Regions from separate parts of the Homo sapiens genome. Here region 1 is linked to region 2. The links are contacts of gene promoters, found by promoter capture Hi-C in human tissues and cell types (Jung and others, 2019). All regions are on one chromosome and are shown on one strand. The core of a region is centred on a gene start or on the middle of the fragment in contact, and the rest is flanking DNA. Distances in the headings are between cores, read along the strand shown.

Region 1 (2,700 bases), core at 31-2,530, 100 kb before region 2:
CTGGAGTGCAGTGGTGCCATCTCAGCTCACTGCAAGCTCTGCCTCCCGGGTTCACGCCATTCTCCTGCCTCAACCCCCCAGGTAGCTGGGTCTACAGGTGCCTGCCACTATGCCTGGCTAATTGTACTTTTTTTAGTAGAGACAGGGTTTCACTGTGTTATCCAGGATGGTCTCCATCTCCTGACCTCGTGATCCGCCCACCTCGGCCTCCCAAAGTGCTGGGATTACAGGCATGAGCCACCGCACCCAGCCCCAAATTTTTAATATTTAAAAAAAATTATTAATCGACCCACTGCCCTCTGGGGGTAAGTTTAGAATCACAATGCTATAGAAGGAATCTGATACATAAAGGTTAATAAGGTTTCTAGGTCAAGAACTTAGAACTGGTTATAAATGAAGACACTGGTGTCACAGTGGTTCCCTCTTCTAAGAAGCCAGAGTCACTGAAACTAGAAAACTGAATGCTGAGCCAGGGCAGCATACAATGAACTGTTTAAGCTACACTGACACATACACACTCACCGCAAAACCCTGCCCCAAAGCCCTGCACAACTGAAAAAACAGTGCTTAGTCACCGTGTTTTCTCTGAAACTCCTAAGTCAAGGCAGGGCCTTCTTGGGAATACACATCCTACCGTAAACTAAAAAACACACTAAAGAATTAGCTTATGTCCCAACCTGCAACATTTCCATATATACCATCAGTCCACGCACTAAGCACACTGCAGTTTTATATGATTTGGGGCAAAATCCTCCATACATTTCTTGGCCTCAGTTTCTTCATCTGTAAAATGACAAAACGGAACTAGATAGTCAATAGGATCCCATTTGCCCTAAGAATCTGTGATTGCCTAGGGTTATTTATCCAGAGATTTCAAAGCTGTTGGAAGTTTCCTGCCTATCTTGAGAGCTGTGTAGCTACTAAATGATGGTTCTCCATTTTGTCAAAGCCTACAAGTATTATTGATAGATGTGTCCTACTTAATGAAAAGGAATAAATTACTATCATGAAAACAGCGTTTTGTAAGTCATTATTTACACGTTTTGTGTTGTTAATTCTTCCCAGAGGAACAAACATGGGAGATTCTCCCCTCTAGAAGTTTGCCACTTAAGACTGACAAAACAGATGTGGTTATATATGTAGAAGACAAACCAGAATAAAATAAAAATATGAAACAAAAGCATAGCTGGAGAGGAGAAGATGTGCATCCTATATGAGTCAAGTACAAAGAAATCTTACATTCAAGCTGCCAAAGCAAAATTTTCCTGTAACTATAAAACTTCTAACTAGATGCTATGTTTCCACATTCAACTGATCAGACTACACACAAGAGAATTTCTATAACCCATAGAGATAAAACAAAGCGTGCTTTACTCAAGTTTCATTTCAACTTCTATTTACTTTCCTTCACATATACCTTTGCCACTAGGAAAAGAATGGTATATGTGTCATTAAGCACAGCAAGCCTGGGTAGTAGCATAAAATGGATTAATTGCCCATTTTCATGAAAAGCAATTACTACAAACATTTTTCAATTTTTAGTAGTTCACATTTAAATGTAGCATATATGGATGGTCATACTCTTTTTCTGATTTTAACAAAATCACATCTGATTTTAAAGATAAATTATAATTTTTTAAAAATGCTTCAAATTGTAGAAACGTATAGTAACAGTCTTTGTGAATATTTTTCTTGTTCTTATCAGGACTATTCAAGTTTCTTTCCCATCAAACTAATTACTCCATTTGAATGCAAACAGAAAGCAGGAAATTGAGCATGAGTCTATATCTGTAAATAATATAAGATTTGAATTCTTGTTTACAAGTCATCTTGAGATAAGATTCCTTTCTAGTCACAGAGACATTTTTTTAAAAGCTTAGACTACAAGTTCTGATGGTGAAAATAAAAAAATTTGATCAAGTGCACACAGGTGCCTACCGAGTTACAACTCTGGCTCCAAGACGGTGTGAAAGGAGTGATCAGACAGCTTTTTGGAACCCAGTGACCTCTCATCTCCCTCCCCCTAATCAAATGCTTGTCTGCGGCCACCTTTCCAGCATTAGCGATAATACCACCTTTATCCCAGCTGCTGTTAAAAATAACATCCATCAAATCCCTTCCTTTACACAAATCCAAAGAAGAGGCAATAATTAAAGTGCAATAGCTGAAAGCAGTAATGATTTTAAGGCTTTTTTTTAAATTATAAAAGGGTTTTTCCACCTTATTCTATTTATCATCCTATAGAAACATGCCATGGATGGCTTACTAACAAGGACTGTTTCTGCGATCTCATGTCCACAAGTTTTGGGTTGGAGCTTGACGCTAGCAGAATGCATTCAACTTGAATAAACAAACACATTTAAATCAGAAAAGTTCATTCGACCAAATCAGGAGACAAAAAAGTTCAGCTACATCGCCATCAAAGCTTCCCACCTCTCTCTCCTTTCTTTTACAATTTTCTCTCTTAAATAAAAGAACAGAAAAGCCGGGTATCTTGCCTATTGTACTCACTGTAAATGGTTTTTTCCCTAACGGCCCTTCAGGATTAATCATTTGGCTCCTCCTCTCCCCGGTGTTTCTCTTCTTGTGGCCAAACAATATGAAGGCCAGTGTCGGGGCTGCACCATGCTGGCAGGACACTGGTGCCAGTATAGAGTACCAGCTTCATACTCTCTTGGTGGCCTAAATCTCTTGTGCAGA
Region 2 (2,700 bases), core at 16-2,515:
AGCCACAAGACCACTCCCTGATTCTAAGTGGACATATTGATCAATTGAACTGACATGTGCCTCCTCCTTTCTCTCCCCTAGTAGCAATCAGCTGTACCAGGGAAATCCATTTCATTTCCCAAAACAAAAGGCAACATTCTGCTCCTTATCTGACACTGTCAGACTAATTTTTTAGAAAATAATAATAATAATAAAGATGCCTAAAAACAGAGCTAGGAGTTGAAATGAAAATGATACGTGTTTAGAGTTTTGGAATTGAGTTGAGGTTATGACTGAGTCCAGAGGTCTGTAATCCCTACAACCACTGAGGACCCTGATATTTATTCATCATACCCAGATTTTTGTTAAAGTTAAGCAAGGGATGGCAACACCACTGCCACTTCAGAGGCTCTCCCAGGGTTACCCTTCACTGCAACTGCCGCAGAGAGGAGACTTGTTCCTTTCTCAGTTACAAGTCAGCCTGCAAACAACTCCAGCTATTTCAGAGACTAGCTAGAGATGGAAAAATATGTGGCAGTCTTTCAACTAACTCTGAAGGACATGGGTTGAAGAACTACCATATAGATCAAAAGGCTCAAATAATTTCATTTGGTTTAGGTTTTTATGCTTTTAATAAATTCTGTCTTGAATATGCAAGAGATCCCCTTTCACATCAGGGTTATGTCAAATGCTTATTCAGCATTTGTTCCTTGCCATGAAGAAACTGAAACCCAACCGAGGTAAATAATGAATTTCATACTGCAAATCACTGAATATTTCATAATTCACAAGAGCAAAGAGGGGGCCAATTAGCTCTGCCTCCCAAAAAGAAATCTATATTTTTACAATGCTTAAATACTGTTAACTACTCATTTTAAAGCTTATCTGGGGTTTTGCAATTGAAAAATCATCTTATGTTTATGAAAAATTCTGTAAGAACACTTAAAAATAACAGACAGAGCTGGAGCAAGAATAATTCTACATATTTTAATTCCTATATGACTCTTACAGGCCTTTGTCTTAACCCGGCAGCCTGAAAAACGATTTAGGTAAAACAGCCCTTCTTTCCCCAGTCCATTTTAAGCAGAGACAACATCCCCCAATCTCCGCCTTAGCAGACACCGACTAACCAACAAAACAGCCGTGCAATTAAGGCCCAGACATTTAACACTCACCATCTCCTGATCCCACCGTCTTCTTTTGATGTTTACAGCACATCTGTAGGATGCAATACTAGGAGATGCCTTGTTTGACCTGCTGCATGATGCTGTGACATCAGTTCAGATGATGCAGCTCATTATGGGAAAGACTGCTGTTGCTATGGCAACTGGGATGTGCTAGGAATCCTTGCTGCATTTCCAGTGGAGCCTGAGACAATACGGAAGCCCTGTAAGAAACAGACGATATGCAAAATTTAGACCAAAGGAAGAGGATTCCTCATTGGACTAAAATCCATAGGTTTAAAAGGGATTTCCCTGAAAGCATTTTGGAAAAAACAAAAATTATCTCCCCCTTTGTTGTTATACATTTAGAAAAAAAAGGTGGGAGGAGAAAATAGAATTAGTACTAAGCAAATAAAAACTGAAATGTACAATGTTTCCTTATTAGACAATTTGATCACTTTTTCCTCCCTGGTCAGCACTGGGATAGCTTTTTAAAAGTTATTAAAAAGAATTTTTGCTCATCTGTCAAAGACCAAAAGAACAAAACAGCGAGCACAAAAATAATTAAAAATGGAATATAAACAGCTGACCAAATGACTCTAACTCTCAAGTAAACAAGTTTTAATTCTCAAAACATGGGCAAACCCTTGGCCAATGAAGTCTGTCCTGGTTATTTTCCCTGATGAACACCAACCCACAGAACCTTCCCATGCAGAATAAACCCAGCTTTCACCTGGTCATCAGATAGGCAGCAAAGGGAAGTTTGGAATCTAGAGGGGCACAACACACCACCCTCAACTTCTACTGACCCTTCCTTTGGCCTGCAGGGAACCCCTCCTTCTCATGGCCAAAACGCATGTGAGTCTTTTCTGGGATCAAACCTAGTGGTTGGAACAAGTAGCAGACCTGCTAGAAACTTCCTAAATCGTTGGCATTCCAAACATTGGGGTCTGTTTTCTTCTTTTCTGAACAATAAAACTGCCTACCACACAGATTATTTGTGCCCCTCCCCAACCCCAAAAGCTGGAACTGTGTGAAAAGCCACATTTAAACAAGACACGGTAAGGCATTTCTCCAGTTGGTAAAAGAAAAGCAAATCTAAAGCAATCACTTCTTTCCAGTCCTGAGCAGAAATCAACGTCATGTGGTGAGAACTGGGGAGAAGGAGATATGGACAGAGCAGCCTATGTTTTGCATATTTAATATTTGCAGGCCATTGATAGAGAAAAGCAGAATCAAGTTGACCTGTATCCACTCCGTCTTCACAACTCTGAAAAAGAACAACATTCCAAAAGCTTAAAACATGAGACAATTATGTTGTCTCCTCCTGCTTGAGATTTTAAAATGGCACTGTTAACCACCAGCATAGGCGGTGTGGGATGAGTGGCAGAAGGAATTCAGGCAGTGTCTCTGTAAACAGGAGCTAATAAAATGCCTGAGAAGTGCCAATATCCCAGCAGCGTGCACCATCAGCCTCGCACAGAGCAACCCTGCCCTAGATGGGAAGACAGACTTGTTCTTGCTTCATCTAGAGAGGAATTAAGAGACCAAAAGCAGG

Evidence for each region. Contacts are between HindIII fragments. The study calls those that stand out against the background at their distance.
Region 1: a fragment that was not itself captured here is called in contact with the fragment with the promoter of AKAP6 in region 2 in 2 of the 25 tissues and cell types used here (dorsolateral prefrontal cortex and hippocampus).

The regions. Positions count from the first base shown.
Region 1 is chr14:32,428,377-32,431,076 of GRCh38, reverse strand. The region is part of intron 1 of AKAP6 (A-kinase anchoring protein 6); the gene reads right to left. Among named protein-coding and RNA genes, the nearest start is that of AKAP6, 100 kb to the right of the region's middle. The HindIII fragment of the contact is 6,611 bases long and covers 1-2,700 here.
Region 2 is chr14:32,327,863-32,330,562 of GRCh38, reverse strand. AKAP6 (A-kinase anchoring protein 6) reads right to left here and starts at 1,265. Exons shown (of 14, transcript NM_004274.5): 1 at 1,155-1,265. The HindIII fragment of the contact is 5,497 bases long and covers 283-2,700 here.